Regions from separate parts of the Homo sapiens genome. Here all the other regions are linked to region 1. Evidence: promoter capture Hi-C in 16 types of primary human blood cells and fetal thymus (Javierre and others, 2016). All regions are on one chromosome and are shown on one strand. The core of a region is centred on a gene start or on the middle of the fragment in contact, and the rest is flanking DNA. Distances in the headings are between cores, read along the strand shown. Region 1 holds the start of RASSF8 (Ras association domain family member 8). Region 2 has its middle 120 kb from the start of LMNTD1. Region 3 holds the start of DNAI7 (dynein axonemal intermediate chain 7).

Region 1 (4,634 bases), core at 1,843-4,342:
GAGCTGCAAACATAAGCTAGGTTTTCTTACAGTGTTAACATCTTGGTTTCAGTTACACGGGTCACCAGATTGATACAGATTTAGCTGAGGTAATAAATCACTGCTTCAGCAATCTTAACAGTCAAGTCAGTTATCTAACGATGATTTGACAAGTAATGAGGTCACCTGCCATTTCCTCCCATAAGTAATTCAACTGCATTTAGTTCATAATACATATGGCTAGAAAAGCATCTAAATCAATTCCTACGATCAGAGAGAGAGATGTCCCCATCACCATGAAGCAGAAGTTACAAAGAAATGGGGGAAGATGCTATGCAGTTGGCCTTAAACATAGAGAAAGGGACTATAAGCCAAGGAATGCAGGTGGCATCTAGAGGCTGAAAAGGGCAAGGAAATGGATTCTCCCCTCGATCCTCCAGAAGGAACACAGCCCACACTTTGATTTTAGATTTCTGACCTCCAGGTCTATAAGATGATCAATTCATCTCTCGATATGGCCTCCTCCTGTTCATTGCCACTGCTCTCCAGTTTAGACTCTCCCTTGGATCTGCCTCTTTTCTGAATCCATCCTCTCAAGTTGTTTTCTTAAAAATCAAATCTTATTATGTCACAGGGTTTGAAGTGCATGAATACTCACTGACTCTAGTTAGGCTCCTTTCCTGGAATATCATTAGAAACCAGAAGTAAGGGTTGTTTACAATTCCCATCAAGGACATTTGGTGTGATCTCAGGAAGGCTTAACAGGGATGTGATTATAGCTACCAAAAAAAAAAAAAAGCTTAAAACAAATTGTACTACACTCTGAAGAAAGAACGCATTAACCAAATGGGCTAGGTAGGGTAAAGATTTTTCTGCACTTATCCAGCACTGAATGGAGGCAAATTCACTGACTTTGGCAGCCATCAGTAAGACTGGAGGTGAGGATACCTGGATTTTTAGGAAGGGTTTTTCCTAAATAGTAGGTATTGTTATCCAATCAGGAAGTTCTGTCCTGATATAAATGCTCATCATATAAGAGTTAGTTATCAAGAGTCAGTCAACTTGCTCACCTCTAGATGTGGTAATACTGAGGTCCAGATCCTCCTGGTGATCAACACAAACTGGATTAAGAGTCAGCTACTCAGTCAGATCCTGAATCCTGGTCCAACGATAACCACACTCTTGCCTGCTACCTGCTTCAAGAAGTACACAAAAGAGGGATCACTACCACAGCCAAAGAAAGGAGGAAAGTTTTTTTTTTTTTTTTTTTTTTTTTTTTGAGATGGAGTTTCGCTCTTGTTGCCCAGGCTGGGGTGCAATGGCGTGATCTCGGCTCACTGCAACCTCTGCCTCCCAGGTTCAAGCGATTCTCCTGCCTCAGCCTCCCAGTTGCTGGGATTGCAGGCATGTGCCACCATGCCCGGCTAATTTTGTATTTTTAGTAGAGACGGGGTTTCTCCATGTTGGTCAGGCTGGTCTCGAACTCCCAACCTCAGGCAATCTGCCAGCCTTGGCCTCCCAAAGTGCTGGGGTTATAGGCATGAGCCACCGCGCCCGGCCAAAAGGCAGAAAGTTCTAAGAAGGAGAGGTCAACATTGGCAAATGCCACAAAGGGCACAAGATGGGAATTAAATTTTTCCATTAGATTTGGCAATTAAGCAATGGCTGATGTTGTTCAGTGGAGTGAAAGGCTGAGAAGGGAATGAGAGGTTAGGAAACATTCACCTTAAGGCTAGGCAACTCCTTTGAAAAGAGTCAAGTAGGGTTAAGGGAGGATCCATGCCCTCCAGGTTGACTTTTAAATCATATTCCCTTTGGTTTTGCATTTGAATCACAGTGAACTTTCTCCTCTCCAAATGTTGATTTGACAAATTTGAGTCTTACCATGGCTCTCTTCTCAGTCCACCTGCAGGTCAAGGAACTAATGAGGTGTGGAGTAACTAAAGGTCAAAAAACAAGAGGAAGAAACAAAGGGCCAAAAAACCCCAAACCTTAAATCAGGTCCTGAGTCAGATACGCTGTAACAAATTCTGCTTCAAGTTTAATATTCTTGTTTTGATGATGTTTAAAAAAAGAAAAATAAAAGCAAGTGTCTGGAAAATTAAAAGGCGGGGTGGGGGGGGGCATTTTAATTGGAATGCTTTCTTGTATCTCATCCACTATCCGCACCCCATCGCCCTGCAAATTAATAGCTGTTGCGGAGTTGGGGTATGTGTGACCACAAAATCCAAAGGCTGAATTTTGCCCAGTGCCTGAGTAATTGCATGCCACACACAAAAAAACAGTAGAATATTGAAAACAACATACACATCTGTATTTCCATATGAAAGCACCCGTTTCCTTTCTTGATTATCTGCTATTTTTAAAGGGGTTGGGAGTGCAGCGGGGCGGGGGGATGAGGCGTTTTTTCTGAATACGAGCCCAGCTCTTTCTAAACTTTTGTTACTCACGTCCGTTTGATTCATTTGCTGTGTTTTTTCTTTCTTTCTTTTTTTTTTTCCCCTCTCCTGCCTCTGTCATTGCCTGCTGCTAAGAGGGACGCTGAATCACAGCCACTGCAGATGAAAAGCAATTCAAACCCAGTCCTTGGAGGGGGGATGGAACGGCTCTTTTTGATTTTTTTCCCCTCTGCAGAAAAAGCCTCCTACTTTCCGGGTGACCGTAGAGGGCAGTTTGACAAGTCTCAGCCCCGGGCGATGGAAGATTTTGCCCGTGGGACCGTCACGAGCCACCGGTCATCTCCCCGCGCCCGGCTTTCGGGTCCTCAGGCCTCGGTGCGTCGCGGGCCAGGCGACAGCGGGGGGGCGTCGCGGGCCGGGCGAGCGTGGCCCGGTGGGCCCGAGGGTCGCGCCGAGCTCCCCGCCGCTTTAAAAGCTCCCACAATGCAGCGCTGGCGTCCCAGTTCCGTTACGAGGTCTCTCCCGGCGCCGGCGAGCGGGCCAGGCGCGGGCGGGGCGCGGAGGAGCGGCGGCTGAAACCCGAGCGCCCGGCCGAGGGGGGCGCCCCCGCGCCGCTCCTCTCGCGCGCTCAGCCGCTGCCCGGCGAAGGGGCGGAGCCGCCTGGCCGCCCGGCCCGGCCCGGCCCGGCCCGGCCCCCAGCCCGGCCCCCAGCCCAGAGGCACCGGCCGCGGGAGCGAGCGGGTCGCCGACTCCTACGCCCGCGCTCCTCCTACGCCCGCGCTCGTCCGGCGCCCCGCGCCGCGCCCCGCTCAGCGTCTGCCGCCCAGCTCCTCGCCCAGCCTCGCCGAGCCTCGCCCTTCCCGCCCGCGGCGGCGTTGGCGCTGGGGGCGGCTCCCGCGGCGTCTCTGCCGCTGGCCGAGCGCTCGCGCACCGCGGCACCCCCGCCAGTGGCGTCCACACTCACCTAGCGCGGGCCGGGAGGTGCGCGGAGAGGGAACGCCGGGGGGCCGGGGCCTCCAGCCGGTGCGGGGCGCGCGGCGCGGGGAGCGCCGGGGAGTGCCGGGGAGTGCGGCGCGGGGACGGGCGCTGGGCGGCCGCGGAGCTCCGGGTGCCGCCGCGTCCCCAGCGCCCCGGCCGGCCCCTCTGGGCGGCCTGCGGGGGCGGCGCAGTTGCGAAACTGAGTAAGTATTAACTTTACTTAGCGGCGGCGATCCGGGCTGCGCCGGGGACCCCGCCCGTCCCGCCTGCAGCCTCGGAGCTGCCCTCCGCCCGGTTGCCCCTCTCTCCGCACCTTGGGTACCTCGTCCGTTCCGCCCCCACCCTGCCCCGCCGCGGGCTCCCGCTCCCTCTGCGTTCACCTTTCCTGGTGTGTCACCCTTTGCGCCTCTCCTCGCGGCACACAAGCCGCGGACTGAAAAGTACGAGCTTGGTCTTTGCTTTTCTGCTTCCTCCCAGTGTCCTTGGCAAGGGAGTTTAGAGGCCACTTTTCTTGCAAAGGGAATTTTATGTCTGGTTTTTAAAATATTTTTTCCTCCGGATGGAAATCGGATGCTCGCTTGCCGGGTGGCGGTTTGGTGAACGCTTTTCTCCTCTAAAAAAATATTGGTTTATAGGTTTTTAAATTTCATTTGAACTATTAACCATCTGCATTCTATTCTCCTTTGCCGCCAGTCCCTTTGGGGAGGGGAGTCCAGAAGAGGGGACGTTCAAAGTAATTCTGACTTGCAAACTAGAAAGTTTGAGAGGGTAAATCGCACAAAGCCGGAAGATTCAACTTGAAGGGACGCGAGCTTTGAATGTGGGTCCTGGTGCGGCACTGGGTTTTAAAAGATGAGTACTTGGGTTCGGAATCCAGTGTTGCGTTGTTATTTTAGCATCATAGAGCCGCCTGGTGTTGCTAAACCACTACTTTCCCAGCCTCAAATGGCATCTTGAACAGTGCAACGTAGGATATATAATTGCGGGTCAATATTGTTGCTGATCTTTAGGGATTTAGAAGCGAAATGAATGCAAATCACGTCTCATAGCTGACTTAAACCTGTCAGGTTAGCCCTGTCAGGTTAGCATTAAAGCATTTCATTAAAAAAAAAAATCCTCTAGCCCTGTGACAGCAGGGACGAACATTTATGGATTTTCCAGTAGATTGTGGCTCAGCAATTCATTAGATCTGCTTTGTCCCCAGGAAGCATTTTAAAATATGTATAAATCTCTGCTTTTCTCTCCATTAGATTAACCACTCATTCTGGTAGGGGGCCC
Region 2 (4,526 bases), core at 1,525-4,024, 520 kb before region 1:
AAGACCAGTCTGGGCAACATAGCAAGACCCTGTCTTTACAAAAAATAATAAAAAATGAACCAAGCATGGTGTCATGCGTCTGTAGTCCCAGCTGCTCAGGAGGCTGAGGTGGGAGGATCACTTCAGCCTGGGAGGTCGAGGTTACAGTGAGCTGTGACTGTGCCACTGCACTTCAGCCTGGGCAACACAATGAGATCCTGTCTCAAAATAAAATAAAATGAAATAAAAGATAAAATAAATGAGGCTAGTGGGACTGAAGAAATGTAAGGGATATAATTTGAATTTGAAAACTTCCAGAGAACATCATGTATTAGCATTTCCTAAAGAGTTTTTGTTGTTGTTGTTATTGCTGTTGTTGTTTTTTTACCCTGCTCTGAGAAAAAAGGTCTCCAGGGTCAAATAAGTTAGGGATCATTCTATATACCATACTTGGGAAACACAGTACTATTTCCTGCCATCTTGGCATCTACACATCTTTGTGTTTTCACTTGGCCTAGTGCTAGGTGCAGGTAAAATTGTCAGACAATTGCTCTGTGAGTCTCCAAACAGCTCCTTAATTAGCTTGTGTAAATGACTTGCTCAACAGCACAGCCAAGTCTGGCAATGGTGGGATTTACACCTAGGCCAGCCACGTGACTCCAAAGACTGTTTCTGGTACAGCAGAAATGGCAATGGAGAAAATGATATTGAAGCTTAGTTTACCTCATGAGCCTTTGTTTAAGGTTGATACAGGCTAGAGTTATTATTTAGTCTGTGAATTCCTTTTTACCAATGCAAAACTAGGAAACATTTAGCATTCACAGAATGTGGCCATTCAGTCTTCCTAAAGGAATTAATATTAACAGTCCTTGTCAACTCACAGCATAGTTCTCTGAGGATGTGTTTCTTTCTGTTTAAATAAAAGAATTCCTGAAACAGGCCAGTAGGTTAATACTTTACACAAAGTCATCCAGAGCAAATATTCTCATACAAATATAGTTGTCATAAGAGGCTCCAAGTGCCTCTTAATACCATACACATATTCAGTCAGCTACTGAAGGGAAGAGAGAATGATTAGAAAGTATGAAGGAAGGAGGCTTGGAGTGGAGAGAAAGGAGAACAATTTGCAAAGACAAAGAAATTTTAAGCCAGATTTAGATAAGAGTACTAGAGCTGGTTTGAATTAGAGGGGAATAAGCTGTGTAAGTTGCCTTCTTTCTTTTACTTCACCTGCAGTTCCTTTGGGAAGCTCTTTGCTGAGCCAGGATTAGAGAAATTTTATTCCTATAACTGTAACTTGTTTTGACCAGCTTGCCCCACCAGTTGAGAGCTATAGTTTGAAGAATTCTCAAGCAAAGAGACTTTACCTGGTTGATGAGTTCAGAATTCAGATAAAGCCTTGAAAGTGGGAATGAGTCATTGTTGGTGCCTGATGGCTATAATTCTCGAAGGTAATCGGGTTTAAAAGCAGTTTTTTTGGTGAATGATGTCATCCTCCATAAAAGCAGATTTTAATTTCTTTTAAGATACCAGTGGAAGTTGTGACCCAGAAATGCCCCAATGAGACCTTACAGATGGCTATTTTCCTGTGCTGTTTGGCATATGTTCATGAAAACCACAGGGGAAAATTGGCTTTGACATGCTTGTGCTTTAAGGTATATGCTGCAGTACCTTGTAAAGGTTCATTTTATTGCCAAATATAACATTCAGTTACCAACTGGAAGTGTAAAAGTTCATATTTTCTTTTTTCTGTTTTTTTTTTTTTAACTTTTAAGACATTATATTTACTAAGATTCTGGCGATAGCTTTATGTAACAAGACACAGCATACCAGGCTTGCTACTCAACTTGTTTATGGTAAGTCTCAGCCTCAATATGAAGCTGTATTTTTTTTAAAAATCAAAACCCTGCTTTTTATATGCTCAATATCTTGGCAAGTGTGCCATTAAACACAGCAGTGAACTTAAGACAGCAAGAGAAAGGAGTTAACAAAAGCTAAACATTGCAGCCTAAACAAACTTCATACAAAAAATAAAGGAACTATCACTGGTTACATGGAATTTTCCTGACTAATTAAAACTTTATGGTATGAAACATGCACTTTAGAATATTTAGTTTTCAAGTTCAAAAAGTACCAGTGTACCAGTGTCTATTTGAAACCATTTCTCTCCAAAGCCAAAGTGTCATCAAAATTAATTCAAATGACCCAGCATATTCTAATGCTAAAAAATATTCAGTATTATTGAAGTGGAGGTAAATCCCAGGGGTTTTGGGGCTTTCTCATGCTGCAAAAGGGCTGTTTCTCTGGTTCATTCAAAGAAGCGTATGACAAAATCCAAGGATGTCCCTAAGCTCAGTAAAAGGCAAGACTCCTGGCACCCAGCTCTGACCTCTCCATAAAGCCTGGCTACTCTTTCCTCAAATACAGGAAGTGTGAGGATCAAAGGCATGTTGTTCTCCTAGCTTAAAGAGACAGCAAAGCACCTCCTCCCTGCATCCTAAAAAGCACCTTTCCCAGGTAAATAAAAGTCTACACGGGGAAAAAATTAAAATACACTGATCTACAGAGTACGGATTTTGAAATGTCAATGTAATCCTTACTTCAAAAATTTTAACTACTTTAAAATTTTTAACATCTGGCCGTTTCTGATTCCACCTTAAAGATGTATTCAAGTTGGATTTCTGTTGATTTATCATTGTACACTTCTAGTCAAAAATATTAATTTTATTCCCAAATATTGTAACCACTAGTGCTACTGCAATGTATTATCTCCCAGAGTTATCAAGCACTGGAAGAGAAAAGAATAGATAAGCAGCAGGCAACATTTACGGCCCTTGCACACAGCGGCATTTGAATAGCTACTGGGTAGTCTGGGGATAATTCTTTTTTTTTTTTTGAGATGGAGTCTTGCTCTTTTGCCCAGTCTGGAGTGCAGTGGCACCATCTCAGTTCACTGCAACCTCTGCCTCCCGGGTTCAAGTGATTCTCCTGCCTCAGCCTTCCAACTAGCTGGGATTACAGGCACCAGCCACCAGGCCCAGCTAATTTTTGTATTTTTAGTAGAGACGGGGTTTCACCCTGTTGGTCAGGCTGGTCTCAAACTCTTGACTTCAGGTGATTCACACGCCTTGGCCTCCCAAAGTGCTGGGATTACAGGCGTGAGCCACTGCGTCTGGCCAGTCCAAGGATAATTCTAAAAACAAGAAAATTCATGCATTATAGTAAATATGTTGTAATTTTCACAGTTGAAATTTCCTTAGACATTGTACTTTCTCTATAAGGGAATCCTGATTTTTCTTAATATTATGATGAGTCAGGACTTGAACTAGCAGCCTTCTTTCTCTTCTTACTGTTTTTCTCATGCTCCTTTTTCCTTTTTTTGTGTTGTTTTTTCTCATTCTTCACTGCTTTTCTTCTTTTTTGCTCTTATCTCCTCAATATACTCTGATTCTGACAAGGACTCAGGTGATAAAGATTTATCTTCAGAATATGGGTTTCTTTTTGCTGAGTCGTTTAATAGCCTTTTTCTTTCTCAGTTGGGTCCTTCTTTTTCTTTAAAAAGAAGTCTTTCTTCCTTATTGTCTTTCTATCCTTACTGTCTGATTCAGTTTCTGACATGGAGCTTTCAGAAGATTTATGTGAATGGTTCTTTTTCTTTCTCCCTTTTCCATGTTTCTTATCCTCATCCTCAGAATCAGAAGAACTGCTGGAAGAATCAGAGCATGATGAAGACGATGAATACCTACCAGATTTATTCTTTTTCTTTTTTTTTCTCTTTTTTTGGATAAGCTCTTACTTTCACTTAACAATTTCTTCCTGTGTTTTTCTAGTTTTTTCTTCAAATTCATACAAAGCCTTGGCGCCTTTTTCTTTTTCTTTTCTAGTTGCTCTTGCACTTCTTCCCAGATAGGCCTTGGTTGACGGAGAGAATCCTGGATTGTTGGCCCTTAAGACTGGATTGGACCCCTTGATCTGGCCATTGCTGTTGGATTCACATAGGCTACCCGATGGTCCTGCTTCTCCTTGGTGCCCGAGTGAGCGCACAGTCACTCATCAAGGGACACGGTCACCCACCAAGGGAAACCTGGCTCGGGAGGCAGCTGAAGTAGGCCTGCCGCAGGTCCTTCTGCACTAAAAGTTCGTATTTTCATGAAAATCTTACCAATGTGTTTAGCAGGCTTGCTTGTTTCATTTTCCCCCCATTAGTCAGTGCCTACTTGGTTTACCACTAGAGGGCATTGTTGGCAGTGATATCAAGAGAAAGCATACTACAGCATTTTGCCAAAAAATTTTGTGCAATCTTTTTCAATTTTCATTTCAGCCAGTAAATAAAAACATACATTTAAAAGCTACTTCATTTAATATTTTATTTTTATATTTTATGCATCCCAAATACTGAGCTTCTAGGCTTTTTGTGTGTATTAATTTAATAAAAGAGAAATCATTGTAAACTTTGGTTCCAGTTTTCCAACAAACGCTAAATCTAGAATCTGTCAGTTTTCCCCCTGCAATGTAATACACTCTCACACATCCTTTCTTGGAATGTT
Region 3 (4,609 bases), core at 246-2,745, 760 kb before region 1:
AACATTGGGAGAAGGATCTAAGAAGAAGAAGAAACTCAGGTAACAAATTGGAAGGTAACAAGTAAGTGCTTACTGTTCCCCCAATTTATTAGCAATTATAAATTGACTTAAGGTCCATTTGCATTCCGCCAGGAATGCTCTCCACTCCCTATTTCTTTTTTTCTCTTTTTTTTTTGAGACGGAGTCTCGCTCTGTCACCCAGGCTGGAGTGCAGTGGCACAATCTCGGCTCACTGCAACCTCCGCCTCCCAGGTTCAAGCGATTCTCTTGCTTCAGCCCCCTGAGTAGCTGGAATTACAGGTGCGCGCCAACACGCCCGGCTAATTTTTGTATTTTTAGTAGAGACTGGGTTTCACCATGTTGACCAGGCTGGTCTCGAACTCCTGACATCGTGATCTGCCCGCCTCGGCCTCCCAAAGTGCTGGGATTACAGGGGTGAGCCACCGCGCCAGGCCTCCACTCCCTATTTCTTCCCACCATATGTGGAAAACTCGTATTTATACTTTAAAACAGGTTGAAAAGCACCACTCTCCTTCCCTTGTTTCCCCTCACTGAAATTTCATCATTTCCAACTGTGTGTTACCCCATTTTAGATGCTTCAATTGTTACAGTTGTAAAGCTGTATTGTAATTAATTTGTTTAATCTGTATCCTATAAGCAGAGTTGTCGTCATGTTCTTCTTGGTATTCTTGGCTTCTAGCCCAGTGCCAAGTACAAAGAATGCACTCCACATTTTTCCCTTAATTAATGAATTAAATAAGTAATTACATTCTCCACTTCCTCTGGTTTTAATTATAGAAAATGTCTTGATGGAAACCACATTTAAGAAAATCAGAGATACTCTCATAGCTACATGTTGGCCTGTCTCCTTGCTGAAAACATGGCAGTTGAGGAGTGCAGAAAAACAAAATGAGAAGCCTTATCATATTTAACTAATGCAGGATGAGAACCTTGAATCACAAAACAATTCATATTCCCACAAAAGACGACATAAAATATTTTTTCAAAGCAGAGTAAATTGCATTAGCTTTTAATTAACTGCTGGAGAAGTACTAAAACATTTCCGCCAAGTTGCAATAAGAAAATTTAGTGGGAACGTCTATCACTACTGAAAGTTACTAGGTTGGGACCAATTTTCAAGCTTAGCAACATTCGAGATCAGGATACCGTGTGACAGCTTTGACCATCTCCCGTTTGCAGAAACTGGTTTGGGACTCCTACCTGTCCGCCTGGTCCAGGTAAGGAAAGCCATTGCTGAGAAGAGGGCCGACCCACCCCAAGGTATGAGTTATTTCCCAAACCGACCCGCTTCGCTGTAAAATATGACTGGCTCTTGATTACATTATTTAACACTGGTGAAGCAGAATCAGTGGTCGCCCCTCCACCTGTCTGCCTCATTTGCCTTGCTCACCATTAAGAGTCAAGCTCCACTGCAGTAGTCCGCAGAGTCGGAGCAGAAATTGTGTGGACAAACGCTCCCGGGTTGCCCGGACGACAGGCCCCGCCCACTTGAGCTCCAGGAAAAGAGCGCAGCCGCGCGGAGGCTCTTCCGGCCGGCGCCCCGCCCCCTTTACTGACAGGTTGCCCACCTCCCCCAACGCCACCCCGCTTCGCAGTAGACGGACAGAGGAGTCGTAGCGGTCGAGGCTTTTGCGGCTCCGGCGTGCCGGAAAGTGCGTGAGTGCCGCCGCCGGGGAGTTTTGTTCCATTTCCCGGATCCTGGGGTCTGGAGGCGAAATATGCTCTGGGCGAGGACCACCGGGTGTGGGAAGAGGGTTCTGAGCGTCTCCTGACGTTGACGGTTTATTTCCTAGAGTGTGTTGGGTCTTTCTGTGAGGGTTTCGAGAAGGAAACAGGCATGCGACTGGTTCATGCAGCGGACACCCGGTGGGAGGCCTGGGCCTCTGCGGTTTAATCCAGCAGGGGGATGGGGCTCATTCCGCAATTTAAAGAGAGAAATAAGTTGGCTCCAGAGGGTTGGTTATTTTAAGATTAATGACCTTCGGATTCTTCTTTCTGCTCTATTGTTTACTTTCTGTGCAGCGTACGCGTCCTTTTTCCTAAGAGCGCCCTAAACAAGAATTGAAAATGAAGCAATTCCTGGCTAAAATATTCCTTAACATGAAGATCGCTGAGGCCCCAAAGACTCATTAGTTTCCCGAGGTCACAGACTAATTTTACTAACCACACAACCTTTAGAATTTCAGTCTCCTCCCACATGAAGAAACGCCGGCACCTTACACCGACAGGAAAACTACAATTAAGTGAGGCTGTTCTCCTCAAGCCCGACTGAGTTCTCTGTAATTGTAGGGCATACCTACACCCTGTTTTAGCATTATGAGACCTGAAATACTTTTAAATTACTGGCACCATTTCTCATCTCTGAATTATAAGTTTATAATGCTCTATCCCTTCCAGTGTTATTGACTACATGCATTATTCATAGATAAGTAGTAGGACTAAGCTAGTCTTTGTGGGTTAAAGTGTTATTATCCCTATTGTAACCTGTAACTATTATAGGTTGTGTAATAGTTATTAGCATTTTACATCCATATCCTGGTAGCAAGATAAAAACATTTTAATAGCGACTTCGTACAGAGTTCTTACTCAGTTTACCATAGCTGTTTGATATGAAAGTTAAGGCTTCCTTTTAAATTAGTTTCAGTAAAACTAATGTTTAATGATAAAACACCTCAGTCAACTCAAGTTAGGATTCATCGGGGTAAGGAGATAGTTCAGTAATCCCAAGTTACCTTAAAATAGTGGGCTTTTAGAGGAAAGGCTTTACTGAAGCTCTCACTGTATCTACCCCATGGGGAACAATGATTAACAACTTTGGCCACCACATAACCCCCAGTAAAATGACAATTTTCCATTAGCCTGGAACTGGAACTGGTTAAGTCCTAACTCCTTAGCCTAGAATGACAGGGGGAAAAAACTATCAATGGGGACTGCAACCGCTGTCTCATCCAGCGCACACATCCAAGTTTTCAGAATAATAGGGGGCTTCTCTTAGTCCTTAACTCTTGGCTCTTTACTTAAAACAGTAACCTCCATGACTTCATGCAGAGTTCAGGAGCAGCCTCAGGGCCCTGCTGAACTCAAAATTGTTTATTCACTACATTGTGAACCCAAGGAGACCTATTTCTCTTAGTGGCTAAAGTAAACCTAAATGCTTCAAGGTCAACTGCATAAAGATAAACTGCATTGCCTGGTGTGGTGGCTCACGCCTGTAATCCCAGCATTTTGAGAGGCCAAAGTGGGTGGATCACGAGGTCTGGAGATGGAGACCATCCTGGATAACACAGTGAAACCCCGTCTCTACTAAAATAATACAAAAAATTAGCCGGGCGTGGTGATCAGCACCTGTAATCCCAGCTGCTCTGGAGGCTGAGACGGGAATCGCTTGAACCCGGGAGAGGGAGGTTGCAGTGAGCCAAGATCGCACCACTACACTCCAGCCGGGTCAACAGAGCAAGACTCCGTCTCAAAAAAAAAAAAAGATAAACTGCATTAATTCATATAAGTTAACATATCAAAGAAGAACAAATTTGCCATAGCCACACTAGTTACATTTTTGCTGGGCAAGTGTTTTATGATACATAATTTGTAAAAAGACCAACAACTAAAAAGGACAACTTAAGCCAGGTCCCTGAAAGCTTTCACAAGTTACAAATTGTGAATTAAATGAAGCTGTGCTGTTAGGCATTAAACAGGTTATAGTTTGCAATTCGAAATTACATCTATGTATATTTAATTTTAAATTATGTGAAAAGAACATGGTTCCGAAGAGGTGTTTTTTGTTTGTTTTGTTTTGAGACAGGGTCTCAAAATGAATTTTGCCCAGGTTGGAGTGGTGGAACAATCACGGCTCACTACAGCCTCAACCTCCTGGGCTCAAGCGATCCTCCCACCTCAGCCTCTCAAATAGCTGAGACTACAGGCACACGCCACCATGCCTGGCTAATATTTTTTTACTTTTAGTAGAGACAAGGTCTCACTCACTATGTTGCCCAGGCTGGTCTCAAACTCCTGAGCTCAAGCCATCCTCCAGCCCTGGCCTCCCAAAGTGCTGAGATTACAGGTACAAGCCACCATGCCCAGCCTAAGAATCATTCTTAGTAAGATTATTTCACGCTGCTAATGGCTCTCTGCCAAAAGAAAAAAAAGGAAGTTTAAAGAATGAAGTAGTTAATATAGTGGGTTAAATACCCTCATCTAATTTTACTCCCTTCCAAAACTACTAAATCTACAGTAAAATGATATAAAAATAAATTGGAAAAATGGGGACAGGAGGTAACAGCAATAAAACTCAGAAGCTGGAAAACAGGTGAATGAATGTGACTTAGCACACCAGAAAAACCCAATTCACTCTGCAGAATTCTCAAAAGGCACTGAAACACGCACCCTGAAATTGGAAGTGGACTACATGAAAGCTATTTGAGAAACACCTCTAAGTAACTCTACCCCCTTACTCCCATAGAAGACTAGAGGTTTATTTCTGGACAAAGTAATACTAGTCCCTGGACTGGGGCATCCTCAGGCATTCTAGAGAAGCACACTGGAAACAAAGTTAAGTGAATTTAGGAATACATAATGCTGGATGCAG

What was found. Contacts are between HindIII fragments. The CHiCAGO score rates a contact against its expected background, and 5 or more counts as called.
Region 2: a contact is called between a fragment that was not itself captured here and the fragment with the promoter of RASSF8 in region 1, in 13 of 17 cell types (endothelial precursors, M1 macrophages, megakaryocytes and 10 more). The highest score is 23.7, in endothelial precursors.
Region 3: a contact is called between the fragment with the promoter of DNAI7 here and the fragment with the promoter of RASSF8 in region 1, in 3 of 17 cell types (M1 macrophages, M2 macrophages and fetal thymus). The highest score is 8.3, in M1 macrophages.

The regions. Positions count from the first base shown.
Region 1 is chr12:25,955,590-25,960,223 of GRCh38, forward strand. It overlaps RASSF8 (Ras association domain family member 8), which reads left to right and starts at 3,093. Exons shown (of 6, transcript NM_001394098.1): 1 at 3,093-3,559. RASSF8-AS1 (RASSF8 antisense RNA 1) reads right to left here and starts at 3,853. Exons shown (of 4, transcript NR_038228.1): 1 at 3,737-3,853; 2 at 1,050-1,175; 3 at 638-758. RefSeq lists silencers at 2,705-3,194, 3,295-3,394, 3,465-3,514, 3,655-3,704. The HindIII fragment of the contact is 3,942 bases long and covers 777-4,634 here.
Region 2 is chr12:25,432,300-25,436,825 of GRCh38, forward strand. It overlaps the pseudogene FAM133GP. Among named protein-coding and RNA genes, the nearest start is that of LMNTD1, 120 kb to the right of the region's middle. The HindIII fragment of the contact is 4,168 bases long and covers 691-4,526 here.
Region 3 is chr12:25,193,665-25,198,273 of GRCh38, forward strand. It overlaps DNAI7 (dynein axonemal intermediate chain 7), which reads right to left and starts at 1,496. Exons shown (of 16, transcript NM_018272.5): 1 at 1,412-1,496. The coding sequence starts at 1,414. It overlaps ETFRF1 (electron transfer flavoprotein regulatory factor 1), which reads left to right and starts at 1,573. Exons shown (of 3, transcript NM_001001660.3): 1 at 1,573-1,673. RefSeq lists an enhancer at 1,814-1,933. The HindIII fragment of the contact is 2,518 bases long and covers 1,140-3,657 here.